Linked DNA regions of Homo sapiens: region 1 is linked to region 2. The links are contacts of gene promoters, found by promoter capture Hi-C in blood cells and fetal thymus (Javierre and others, 2016). All regions are on one chromosome and are shown on one strand. Each heading gives the region's core, a stretch centred on a gene start or on the middle of the fragment in contact. The rest is flanking DNA. Distances are from core to core; before and after follow the strand shown. Region 1 holds the start of LOC105373456 (a long non-coding RNA gene). Region 2 holds the start of RHOB (ras homolog family member B).

What was found. Contacts are between HindIII fragments. The CHiCAGO score rates a contact against its expected background, and 5 or more counts as called.
Region 1: a fragment that was not itself captured here is called in contact with the fragment with the promoter of RHOB in region 2 in 1 of 17 cell types (activated CD4 T cells); the score reaches 6.9 in activated CD4 T cells.

Annotation. Positions count from the first base shown.
Region 1 is chr2:18,560,092-18,567,357 of GRCh38, forward strand. It overlaps NT5C1B-RDH14 (NT5C1B-RDH14 readthrough), which reads right to left. Exons shown (of 11, transcript NM_001199104.2): 10 at 3,754-4,028. It overlaps NT5C1B (5'-nucleotidase, cytosolic IB), which reads right to left. Exons shown (of 9, transcript NM_033253.4): 9 at 2,780-4,028. The coding sequence ends at 3,705. It overlaps LOC105373456 (a long non-coding RNA gene), which reads left to right and starts at 85. Exons shown (of 6, transcript XR_007086234.1): 1 at 85-600; 2 at 3,730-3,935. It overlaps RDH14 (retinol dehydrogenase 14), which reads right to left and starts at 562. Exons shown (of 2, transcript NM_020905.4): 1 at 89-562. The coding sequence starts at 481. RefSeq lists a silencer at 1-491 and enhancers at 582-631, 692-741, 752-971. The HindIII fragment of the contact is 2,057 bases long and covers 1,342-3,398 here.
Region 2 is chr2:20,443,324-20,449,872 of GRCh38, forward strand. RHOB (ras homolog family member B) reads left to right here and starts at 3,751. Exons shown (of 1, transcript NM_004040.4): 1 at 3,751-6,117. The coding sequence starts at 4,143. The coding sequence ends at 4,733. RefSeq lists silencers at 3,460-3,709, 3,960-4,169. The HindIII fragment of the contact is 3,675 bases long and covers 3,020-6,549 here.

The DNA.
Region 1 (7,266 bases), core at 1,120-3,619, 1.9 Mb before region 2:
GGTCCCTCGCGGCTCAGCCCCAGCCCGCAGTCCCCTCCCACACCGTGCCCAGGCCCTCCCCACCAGCCCGGCCCCCCGAGGCCCACACCTGGAGCATTTCCTGGCAGAAGGCGCGCACCGAGCGCAGCGAGGCGAGGTCCAGCTCCCGGACTATGAGCTCGCCCACCCCGCTGACGCCAGGCTCTGGGCCGCACTCCGCGGCCTGGCGGAGCTCGCGGCGGAGCTGACCCGCCGCCTCCTCGGCGCGCGCGCGGTCCCGGCAGCCCATGATCACCCGCGCTCCCAGGCGCAGTAGCTCGGCGGCCGTGGCGCGGCCCAGGCCGCTGTTCGCCCCGGTGATCAGCACAGTCTTCCCGTGCATGAGGCCGGGGTCCCCGCCTCTGCGCAGCCGCTGGACCCTGGGCCCCACGAACCGGCGGGCCGCCAGCCACAGCGCCCCGCCCAGAGCGGCCAGTACTGCCGCCGCAGTGGCCACTGCCATCGTCAGGCCCGAGGGCCCACCGGCCCCTCCACGGGAGTTCCGCAGCCGCCGCCTTACCGGAACCCAAGAGACCACCTGTACGCGGAGAACGCTGGGGCGCGGCGGGTCGGCCCCTGACGGTGCGCGTGGGGCATGCTGGGACTTGTAGTTTCCCTCTGGGGGGGTCGCCTGATTGGTTGTGAGAGTTCAGCGCCCTGGGTCCTGCGCCCTCCGTGGAAGCTCCTCCCAGCCTAATGATGGAGGCTGGGCAACCAGCACAGTGTTCAGGGTGCTGGGGTTCATACGTATTGAAATCCCAGAGTAGTGGCGGACTTCCCCATGGGAATGTCTGATGAGTACTTTGAATCACAGATCTCTGTACAGGCCCTGTTACAAATGCCACTCCTCAGGGCATTTCGTGTGTTTTCCTTTGAGGGCTCTTGGGACTTGTAAATTCAGTTCAATTCACCTTCTGAGGAATGGGCCCTGACAAGCTGAAGTCTGAGGTAGGACTGTTTTTCATAGATGAGACAAAGAATTAAGCAACATGAATCAGTTGGAAATAGAATGGTCGAGTAGTTCTCAAACTTAAATGCACATCAGAATCACCTGGAGGACTTGGGGTGGGGGTTCGGGGTGGGGGAATGAAACAAAACGAAAACAAAAAACCAGGGCCCCAGTATTAGAGTTTCTAATTCAATAGGTACAGGATGGGGCCTGATAATTTGCACTTTTAACAAGTTTCCAGGTGCTGCTGCTGCTGCAGATCTGGGAACCACACTTTGAGAACCACTGAACAAGACATTATGTCATTGGTCCCTATTAAAAAAAAGAAAGCCATCTTCAAATGATCTTCACACTGGCAGAGGTACAGTGGGAAAAGCTTGGACTTATTGTAAATATAGGCTTCTGAGCAGGCCATTTACAAATGCCTCCCTGCCCTCTCCATAGGACTATTACACACAACGATGGAAGGCAAAGTGCTTGGCTCACTGTAAAATGCCTCATTAATATCAGGGTTAGTGTCACAGGGACCCTTCTTCAAGCTACAAACTTCATAGCTGTAGACCAAGCTACTTTTAAAGACTCATTCGTTCGTCTGCCTCTCCATCCAATATGTGCCTGGCCCTGCCTGTTCCCTGTTAGAGCCACAGAGAAATGGGACACCATTTCTGCTCTCAGGGTGCTTACTTTCTGGAACTGTGATCTCCCACTTCCCACCCTCCACCCATTGCAGGTTCTCCAGACAAGGAAAAAGAACCACAGCTTGTGTCGTTTGAGACAAACTCCCCAATAATTGTGATAATCCATCTTCCACTCCCTTACATTTGGGAAGGATGTAACATGCAACTAATAGTCAGAATACAAAGAAAAAGGGATGGATTCCAGGAGGTTTCTTATGAGTAATGAGAATGGAGCTCAGAGGTGGGAAAGAGCACTCTTACTGGGGATTATACAAGGCACCAGGAACAGGAATCATGAGAGGTGGTCCTACACCACCCTATCCCCAATTTGAAGCTGCTACTCAAACTCATTGATCCCCCAGCATATGTTTCCACTTTATTGTCCTTTCTACCCATCCACATCTTGCCCATCCATCAAAATCACAGGCTACCTCAAGTCTTTCTTTCCTGACCACTTCCAGCCTATAAAGATCTCTGCTCCCTTCATGTGTGACCCTCAGGGTCATGTGTGACCCTCACTGGCACTGAAGACAAACAGCCTTCTAGTATTGGCTGTTTGAGTTTGCACATTTGACTTCCTTGACCAGATTGTTAAGGTTTCAAGTTTCCTAGAGGATAGGATTGTGTCTGCGTACCTCTTGTGGTCTTTGCATGGGAGGACACCTACAAAATGGTAGGTACTCAGTGTCACATGTCACAACTGATATATTTTGGACTGGTTTACATAAAATTAGGGAGCATCAGAAGATGTGTTTCAGCTGTGGTCTTCTCTCATCTAGAGCCAGGGGTGGAATACATATGTACAGGTGGAGTAGAGATGAAGGTGGAGGTAGAGAGAGCAGGAGAGGGTAGGAGGAAAAGAGGAGGGAGGAATCCTTAGACCTGCAGTGTAACTGCTGTGTAGTTTATGCATGGAACTTAATGAAATGATTAATCTGTACCAGATGGGTCCAAAGGCCATGAAATTAATAACTCTATTTGGAAGGGAGGAAAGAGACCTCATTATAACTTATGAAGTAAGATTTGAATTTGAATCTAATTAGTCTTAACACTTATTAGCTCCATATCCTTAAACAAGCTGTCTAATCTTTTTGAATCTTAGGCTCCTCATTGATAAAAAGGAAGGTAATAATAATACTATGTCACAAACATTTAATTTGATAAGAAAATGAAGTAACATGTGAAAATAACCAGGTCACTGTGCCTAACATATGATATATTTAATGACCAACCAATTTTTGTTGAAAACAAAACAAAAATCATGAGAGAATGACAATGAAGGGCCAGGATACTACACTTCATGTCACTTTTTGAAGTGGTAGCGTAGGGTCTTTTTTTTTTTTTTCCATACAAATATGGATGTGCCAGCCTGCCAGGCCCAAAGCCGGAGACTTCAAATATGAAACTCTGTGGATCAGAGGCATTTAACCCACCAAATAATTTTCAGAGAACCTTTCTTAGGGGTTTCTGTTTAAGGCTTATCTTAGAAAGTACCCTGGAGGAACAACCAGATGATTTATTTCTAAATGAGCAGTATCAAAATTGTTATACTCATGCAGGTAGAGTGAAATTCTCATTTTGCTTTGGTTACAAAGCTAGCCATAGCAGTCACAGAATACAAAGCTCCAGTTTTCAAGAGTGTGCTTAACCATACTCCTTCTACCTTTGAAGACACTATTCTACAATGCTGATGGGTAACAATTCATTGTTATCTACAAACATCCAAAAATGAGCAGTGTTTATAAAACTAAGTAAGCTTCTAAAACAGTGCCTTAAGCATGCAAATATTCAAGTTCTAAACTTATCCTAAAGAGTCATCATTATGACTTACACAGAGATAGGTGTAATGGCATTCAACAGTATTGGTAGTTCAAAGAGAAGTAGTTTGATGGTAACTTGAGGGTTCAAAAGGTTTTCCAAAAAATCAGGAGAAAACCTTTCCAAAGAAGCAAAGTTTTAAGGTCCAATTTTCTGAAATACCTATCTAATTATCCTAGAGAGCCAAAAGAAGTGGCTTCTGTAACACCAGACTATCACCACTTTATTTCTCCTCCCTGCCCCTAACTACTGAATTTTTTATTAAAGCCATAAGCTGCGATGGAACCTAACCTCTGTGCCCCTTCAATGTGGAACATGTGGTCATCAAAGAAGATGTGGGGCCGGATCTTCACCAAGATGGGACTTTTGGGGGCTCCAGCAAGGAAAAGAGCTTCGTCTATCTCTAGACCCCAGCGTCGAAGGGTCTTCAGCACACGGGCGCCTGAACTGGCTGCACTCCTAGCTGTAACCAGGTAGGTCCTGATAGGACAAAGTAACCGTTCATTTTTGGCATAGAACTTCTTTTGCAGTCTGCCTAAATCTTCCAGAAAGCCTTTTAGGGGACCCTGTAAAAGGAACATATATCACAGCTGTGATACAGTGAGCCAAAGAAAGTGAATGCTAAAAAGCAGAGACCTATATGATACGATACAATACAAAGGATATAATACAGCATGACATGCAGTGTTATGAAGCTGATGGCAAAATGCTAAAACTTGATAGGAATTTATGTGAATATGTTTTCTGATATAGAACCATCCTTGCATTCCTGGAATGTGCCTAAAATGACCATATTATTTAACATGTAAACCTATATACTTTAGGTATGAAAGAATGTTCAATAAATACTTAAGCCAGGACAACAGACATAAACTATCCATGGTAAGCTGGAATAGAGGGTCACTCTAAATAAACTCTAATTAGTTACCAAAGCACTACTCTTTTAATTTGCTTTTTGTGAATTGTGCATTTTAACTTTATGAAGTATATGCTTTTGTCTAGTTTAATGCTGTTTGGCTTGAATCTAACTGTGTCTTTCATTTTTAACCTTTCCAAACACTTGGTTTTAGTATCTCTTGTACAGAGCCTAGAATTGGATTTTGCTATGTGATACAACCTGAAAATCTTATTTTTTAAAACAATAGTTAAGTTTTTGTTCATTTACATTTATTCATATTACAAACATACTTGAGATTGTTTCTGTCTTATGGTTTTTATTGCATTTTCCATGTTTTAAAATTTTTAAAGGATTGTTCAATAATCTGTGTCTTTCTTCTTTGTAGTTGTGTGTGGGTGGTTCTTCTGACATTTAAGAAGGTTTACATTATTTCCTTCTATAAATTACCTTTACAACTATAACCTTTTATAGTACCCTCAGTCCTCTATTTTAAAAAGAATCCCAGATCTATTATTCTTCATAATGAGAAATAATGAAAGCAGGGCATTTCTTCAATGTCTCTGTAGTCCTCTATTTCTTCTCCACCATCTAATTTTAGTCATTTATTTACTTTTCCTTGGTGTTTCTTTTGCATTATTACATTTTGTTTTATTTCTGTTTATCAAGTTTACATTTCATCCTTTGATTGGCTATTGTAACTGAAAATTCCAGCATACTTCTTCCGTAGACCTTCTTTCCCCATATTTTTCCATTTTTTGTTAGTTACATAATTTGTACATCATACAAATTTGTTCATTTGTACGGTTGTTTTAGTTTTAATTCTATGGTTAAGTATATTATATGACCATTTGTGCCTTTGTGCTTCTAGTCCTCTGCATGTTGGCCGAAATTTGTCCTGTAGTACTGATTTTCTCAAAAACATCTTATGGTAATAATCCCTGAGAATATAGTATATTCTCAACTATATATCTATTTCCTCTGTCCTTGAATAAACTTTTGGCTAGATATAGAATCCATGATTTACATATAAGATTCTCCACAAGATCTTATAAGTAGTGCTCCACTGTCTTTTGCTTTTGAATGCTGCTCTTGAGAAGTTTGAGGGCCTCTTGATTGCCATGCCACCTCTTCCATCACTTACATGAGTAGGCAGCCCAGATAATTATTTCTTCATTTTGAAGCCCAGTAATTTCACTAGGCCATGTCTCAGTGATGGTCATTTTGATTCTATACCTCTGTCATACAATATGGGCTTTTAATCTTTAATATTTTAATCATTTAATATATATAAACATCTTTGATAATTTAGCAGTTTTTAATTTATATTTTTACATTAATTTGCATCTTTATATTTAACATCAGTCCCCCTCCCCCAACATGATTTTAAAGTTTTTCTTCAGGGATTCTACTTAGGCATATGCTGGGTCTTCTTTACCTGTTATCTATTTCTGTCATTTTTCTATATGTAATTGTATTTTTAACAGTAACAGATGGGTAATAACTCTATTGGAAGGGACGAAAGATTTACAGCATTCTATAACTTTCACATTTTATCATGTCTTCCTTGACTATTGCATTTTTACTTTATGATCTTGCTTTAAGTCTTTAAAAGTCATGGCAAATGTTCAGTCATAATTATCTGTATTATGTCAACTTTTTCTTGTAAGAGCTCTTCATCTGTTATTAGATTTTTTTCTTTTTTAATCTGCCTTTTTCTCATAGTATCTTTGAATGTATTCAATGTCAGCTCTCTTTTTATTATTACTTATACTGAAGTAGACTGGTTTTTCTTGGGATAATTGGTGGGTTTCTAGGGGAAGGTCAAGGGTAGTATTTGGAGACTGACTTGTTTTCATGATTCAAAGGCTCCCTTCTTTGCTGTCATGGAAACAAACAGTTTTCTGTAAACATGACTTATTGTGTAACCATTTGCTTAAATTTTCTTTAAGGTTGTATATCTTAGAAAAAAACAAGTAAATTTGCTTTCTCACGGTAAGAGGCCATACATATAGGTGAAAAAACTGGGACTGTTTTTATGACAAAAGCAGAAAACTCATAGTGACTGTTGGCAGGAACCACCCTCATTGCAGTTAGTCTTTAAAACACAGAGGGGCACAGTTTCCCTTGCTGTTTTTGGATGATTTCCAAATGGAAGAAACAGAGAATGCTGAGTTATGTCACCACATTCAAACCAAGTACCCATCTCATTCTCTTTTACTTCTATATTGGGGTATGTTTTATAATTTATACATTTGCACAGTAGTACAGCATATAATTTATCAATAAAAATATAACAATACTAGGGAAGCTTACAAAAAGCAAATACTAGGGAGAGACTGTTACTCCCACCCTAATAACAAGAAAACTCCAATCTAAAAAATAACTTTTCTTGAGCCCATCAAAGAGCTGAGATTGCAGGGTAACCACCTAGCATGAAAACTAGGGAAAAACAGTCATCTTCAAGAAGACATGGAGTGCAAGAACTGTGTACTTTTGGTAGAGTGTTGAAGAAAGTTATACCAGCTTCCATACAAGCAAGTACAAGCAATTCAAGTAATTTCAAAAAGACATTGACAAAGAACTAGGGTCCACCAATGAGAGAGCATAGAAGCCCTAGGATCCACAGGCACAAGAAGTACACACTCTCTTTTAGGCTTTTCTCCATGGACTTCACTAGATGCTGATGACAAAGACTGCAGGCAGTGGGGTGATAGAATAAAGCCATCCTTGATGGTACAGGTGTGGAGGAGGGGAGCAGCTGCCACTGGGGGCAAAGACTAAAACTCCCCCTAGTTGCTTATACCCTCAGGAACAAAGAGCCTAGACTGCTAGAAGAGCTTCAAACACTGTTATCCTCCAGGGCATGAGTAAAGATCCACTGTTACAGAAGAAAACATTCTAACTTT
Region 2 (6,549 bases), core at 2,501-5,000:
TTTTGACCAAAGGTTTTCTTTTCTTTTCTTTCTTTTTTTTTTTTTAAGAAAAAGACCCCATAAAGATTGCCGCAAGGTGGCACTAAAATCTAATGAAAATTCCAACTCTGCTCTGGTCTTTGAGGAGTGTAGAATGATTTACAGGAGACACCTGGCAAACAAACAAAACCAAATAAATTAGGTTAAAGATTAGAGATAGATTAATATCCTCCTTTTGTCTGAAATACAACTTCCCTGTCTCACAGGTGTGGATATATTATGTCATAAGATGAATATGTTAATAAAGTTAATTGTTAACATGACTTGTTCTTGGCTGGTGGCGGTGGCTCACGCCTGTAATCCCAGCACTTGGGGAGGTCTAAGTGGGTGGATCACTTGAAGTCAGGAATTTGAGACCAGCCTGGCCAACAAGGGAAAACCCTGTGTACTGAAAATACAAAAATTAGCCAGGCATGGTGTCACACGCCTGTAATCCCAGCTACTCGGGGGTCTGAGGCAGGAGAACTGCTTGAACCCAGGAGGCCGAGGTTACAGTGAGCCAAGATCATACCACTGCACTCCAGCCTGGGTGACAGAGTAGGACTCTGTCTCAAAAAATAAAATAAAATAAAATGACTTGTTCTCATAGAAGAATCAAATTTTATCCCTGTCTGAGGAAGTGTATTATGAAGGGCAAGGGACAGGGAGGGGCTTGTCCGGCATATCACCTAGTTGGGAAAAGTTTATCCTGTGTGTGGGGCAGTCTTGGAAGCAGCCAGTCTCTGCAGAGCTTGTCAAAGTATCCTGGACTAAAAAAAAAAAAATACCATGAAAAGAAGTTACTAAAGAAGTTACTGCAGAACACAGATCTATTTGTTTACTTTGGCATTTTTACCAACTGCATAGTTTTAGAAATTATTGCAATATTGAGATTTGAGCTTGGAACACCTCATATAATATTCCTGGAAATCAGAACACGAAGGAGTTCAATCCGTTTTCCGGATTCTTTGTTTTTTAAAGAAAAAAACACATGGTACAAAGCTTTGTTTCATATTTCTTGGTATTTGAAGTTTAAGGACATAGCCAAGTTTCCCAAGCTATATTAAGACCAAGGAAAGCGGCGTTAACAATACAGCTATAAAAGGTTTTGACTAAAAGAAGAAAAATTTGTGTAAATAAGACTTTTCTAATAGGAAAAAAAAAAAGCTTCCAGATTGCATCCTTAAATCAATGAACAGAAAAACTATTTACTTGCTGACAGATCAGTTCCTTAGATCTGAAAAACAAACCCCCGCCCCCCACCGCCCCGGCCAACAACAACAAAAAAAAGCTGGTTGGCCGGTTGTTGTAGTGATGTGAATCCAGTCTGAGGGAAGCACAGCACTTCCAGTCGTCTAAATAAGACGTTCCCTCTAGGAAGGGCTCTAGGCTTAGCAGCACTACTGCCTTATTTGATCTGATTTCATCTGTGGAGCCATATGGGGACCTAGCTCTTAACATATGAATTACATGTGAAAACACCGGGGTTCAGTCACAGTTGGCTGCATGGGTTTGCTTAATGATTTTCTTTTTAATGTTTACTTTTTTTTTTTCTTTTGAGCCAGGGTCTCATTCTGTCACCCAGGCTGGAGTGGGGTGTTGTGATCATAGCTCACTGCAGCCTTGCCCTCCTGGGCTCAAGCAATCCTCCCACCTCAGCCTCCTGAGTAGTTGAGATTATAGGTGCAGGCCACTCTCCTCCCCACGCCATCCCATTTTATTTTTCTCAGGGACAGGGACGGGGTTTTGTCATGTTACCCAGGCTGGTCTTGAACTCCTGAGCTCAAACAATTCTCCAGCCTGGGCCTCCCACGCCCAGGGATCACAGGCATGAGGTACTGTGCCCGGCCTGGTTAGATAATTGTTAAAGCGAAGTGTGGAACTGAGGTAAGAAACCCCCAGAAAATTCCACCTGCGTTTCTGAGCATTCGGGTTAATTCCCCACAGTCATTTACTGATCCTTGTAAATGCCAGGCATTGTGCTGGGTCTTCAAGATGCGGAGATAAGACAGAATCCTGGCCCTCCAACAACTGACAGAGACCGAGACAGAGACGGAGACAGGAGGCAACCACCTCCCGGTCATGTGGTGGGTCCCTCCTTTGCTGAAAAAACAGTTTGCAGACATTTCCCATGCAATGGATAGACAGAGCCCAGCCCATGCTGTTAATACTTTAGCACTCATGAGCCCCAGCATATGCAGCTCCTAGAGTTTGCCCCGCTCCTTCCCACCTTCCTGCTTGTGTTCAGGCTGTTTCTCCTGCCCGGGAGCCCTCCCCGACTCCCCTTTCCCCCTATCCCCTTCTTCCTCTTTTATCCGTAGAAATCGGTTGACTTGGGTCTTTCCGGATCACCGGTACTGTCATTTCATGCAGGATCTACAGGATAAATGAGTTCAGTCCTGGCGTGCATCAGGAGGCTACGCCCCAATAGAGGGGACACCCCCTAACCCGCTGTGCCCCATTTGCTAGCCCCTTACTCCTCCCCTCTTCTCCAGCCTCAAGCCTTTTCGTCTGCTCAGGGGTCTTGGGGTGGTTGGATTCTATTGAACCCGGAATATTGTACGTTCTATTGTACAATAGTGTATATTCTATTGTACATTCTATTGTACAATAGTGTATATTCTATTGTACATTCTATTGTACAATAGTGTATATTCTATTGTACATTCTATTGTACAATAGTGTATATTCTATTGTACATTCTATTGTACAATAGTGTATATTCTATTGTACATTCTATTGTACAAGTGTATATTCTATTGTACATTCTATTGTACAATAGTGTATATTCTATTGTACATTCTATTGTACAATAGTGTATATTCTATTGTACATTCTATTGTACAATAGTGTATATTCTATTGTACAATTTATCTCAGACAGTTCTCTGTTTTAAGAACCGGGATCAGAGTTCATAGTGAAAAGAGGGGCCGAAGGGGCTTCTTCCTGTCCGGTAACTTCCTCCAAGTGTTCGAGCCTCGACCTTCCCTTTCCGTTGTCAAGCTTGGGCCACTCCGCACCTCTTCCCTTAATCTTCACCTAGAGACCTAAGCTGGGGGTTGGGAAGGGTAGGGGCGGCGGGACTTGGAAGAGCCAGTTTGCAGCCAGCCGGTCGCCTCTCGGGTCCAAACCCGAGGCTGGCCCACGGCGAGTACCCGGGTGGGGCCCTAAACCACAGGAGGGGCCACCTCCAAAAGAAAAGAGAAAACACTCTTGTTTGGGAACAAAAGTGTGTGTGTGGGGTGTGTGTGTGTGTGTGTGTGTGTGTGTGTCTGTTTATTTAAAAACAAAACCACGTTAAAAGAGCTGCCCCTCCCCCACAGGCCCGACCACCCGCCGGGAGTTTGCCAGGAAGAGGGGCAATTCTGAATGGGAGTCGCCAACGCCCCACTGAGTGAAGCCTGTCTCGGAACCGCTCGCCCAGACCCTGGAGGCTCCAGACAGCCAGCTCCCGGACCCCGCGCGCAAACGCTGCGGCGAAGGAGGGGACCCGGGTACCGCCAGAGCCCCGCAGCGGCAGCAGCAGCGCGGACTCCCCGGTCGCTGCCTCTCCCAGCCCGGCGGCCTGGGCCGTCAATCAAGCTGGCCCTGCCCCGCCCTCGGGCTGCAGGGGGCGGCCAATCAGAGCTAAGCTCCGCAGCGATGAGCTCAGCCGGCTGGTTTCCCATTGGACGGCTATATTAAGAAAGTGGCCGGACTCTTTAAATAGCGGGCGCTAGGGCCGCAGCCCTCATCTGCCACCGCAGTCTGGTTGGAGCTGTTGTCTTGTATGCTCAGCGAGGCCCGGAGAGACCCGGGAGAGAGCTAGGCCGAGTCCACCGCCCGAGTCTGCTGCCCGAGCCCGCGTTACGCACAAAGCCGCCGATCCCCGGCCTGGGGTGAGCAGAGCGACCACCGCCCGGGAGCAGCGCGGCGAGACGCACGGTGCGCCCTATGCCCCCGCGCCCCCACCGCCCCCGCCGCGGCAGCCGAAGCGCAGCGAGAGAACGCGCCACCGCGGGGCCCGGGTGCAGCTAGCGACCCTCTCGCCACCTGCGCGCAGCCCGAGGTGAGCAGTGAGCGGCGAGCGGGAGGGCAGCGAGGCGTTCGCGGGCCCCCTCCTGCTGCCCGGGCCCGGCCCGCTCATGGCGGCCATCCGCAAGAAGCTGGTGGTGGTGGGCGACGGCGCGTGTGGCAAGACGTGCCTGCTGATCGTGTTCAGTAAGGACGAGTTCCCCGAGGTGTACGTGCCCACCGTCTTCGAGAACTATGTGGCCGACATTGAGGTGGACGGCAAGCAGGTGGAGCTGGCGCTGTGGGACACGGCGGGCCAGGAGGACTACGACCGCCTGCGGCCGCTCTCCTACCCGGACACCGACGTCATTCTCATGTGCTTCTCGGTGGACAGCCCGGACTCGCTGGAGAACATCCCCGAGAAGTGGGTCCCCGAGGTGAAGCACTTCTGTCCCAATGTGCCCATCATCCTGGTGGCCAACAAAAAAGACCTGCGCAGCGACGAGCATGTCCGCACAGAGCTGGCCCGCATGAAGCAGGAACCCGTGCGCACGGATGACGGCCGCGCCATGGCCGTGCGCATCCAAGCCTACGACTACCTCGAGTGCTCTGCCAAGACCAAGGAAGGCGTGCGCGAGGTCTTCGAGACGGCCACGCGCGCCGCGCTGCAGAAGCGCTACGGCTCCCAGAACGGCTGCATCAACTGCTGCAAGGTGCTATGAGGGCCGCGCCCGTCGCGCCTGCCCCTGCCGGCACGGCTCCCCCTCCTGGACCAGTCCCCCGCGAGCCCGGAGAAGGGGAGACCCGTGTCCCACAAGGACCCCACCGGCCTGCCTGGCATCTGTCTGCTGACGCCTCTGGCTTGCGCCAGGACTTGGCGTGGGCACCGGGCGCCCCCATCCCAGTGTCTGTGTGCGTCCAGCTGTGTTGCACAGGCCTGGGCTCCCCACTGAGTGCCAAGGGTCCCCTGAGCATGCTTTTCTGAAGAGCCGGGCCTCAGAGTGTGTGGCTGTGTGTCTGTTCGACTCCCCTCGCCCCATTTTCACCCCACCCCCGCCTCTGATCCCCGGGGGCGAGATTGGCGCGGGAGTGTGGCCGCGCCCCATCAGATGTTCGCCCTTCACCAGCGGGAGCTTGATATCCCTTGTCTGTAACATAGACCCCGGGTACTGCGGGAGGGGAGGGCTGCTGGGGAGGATGGGGGGATGTTATATAAATATAGATATAATTTTATTTTCGGAGCTAAGATGGTGTTATTTAAGGGTGGTGATGGGTGAGCGCTCTGGCCCAGGCTGGGCCAGACTCCCGCCCAAGCATGAACAGGACTTGACCATCTTTCCAACCCCTGGGGAAGACATTTGCAACTGACTTGGGGAGGACACAGCTTCAGCACAGCCTCTCCTGCGGGCCAGCCCGCTGCGAACCCTCCACCAGCTACCGGAGGGAGGAGGGAGGATGCGCTGTGGGGTTGTTTTTGCCATAAGCGAACTTTGTGCCTGTCCTAGAAGTGAAAATTGTTCAGTCCAAGAAACTGATGTTATTTGATTTATTTAAAGGCTAAAATTTGTTTTTTTATTCTTTGCACAATTGTTTCATTGTTTGACACTTAATGCACTCGTCATTTGCATACGACAGTAGCATTCTGACCACACTTGTACGCTGTAACCTCATCTACTTCTGATGTTTTTAAAAAATGACTTTTAACAAGGAGAGGGAAAAGAAACCCACTAAATTTTGCTTTGTTTCCTTGAAGAATGTGGCAACACTGTTTTGTGATTTTATTTGTGCAGGTCATGCACACAGTTTTGATAAAGGGCAGTAACAAGTATTGGGGCCTATTTTTTTTTTTTCCACAAGGCATTCTCTAAAGCTATGTGAAATTTTCTCTGCACCTCTGTACAGAGAATACACCTGCCCCTGTATATCCTTTTTTCCCCTCCCCTCCCTCCCAGTGGTACTTCTACTAAATTGTTGTCTTGTTTTTTATTTTTTAAATAAACTGACAAATGACAAAATGGTGAGCTTATGATGTTTACATAAAAGTTCTATAAGCTGTGTATACAGTTTTTTATGTAAAATATTAAAAGACTATGATGATGACATTTATAAAATGGCTCTTGTGGTTTAATAGTGTGTAAAAATACCCTTGTGAATTTGGAACAAGGGAGATATTCTCCTAGGCGAGATCCTTTCTTGCCAACTCCGTTTCCCTTATAGCAAATGTAGTAAATGAGGATGAAGTCCCTTTGAGAGCATGTGGGGGTTGGGTGACCAAGGGAGACCAGGTTGTTCCTGTCACATTCCTAGAGGAAGATGAGTGGATACCCCGACACCCAGTGCAAAAACTTTTGACCTATTATGTACTCAGTTCAATTGGGTGAGACCGAAGATCTTGATTTCATTCATCTGTGTGTCTTAAAAACACTTGTGTCTTTAAGTCTATTATGGGGCTTTGCTTATTCTTTGAGTCTTGGAAAGTTATCATTTGTGCATTTTAAATTTAGAAAACCTTTATTAATCGTTGGTGTGGGGTCACGC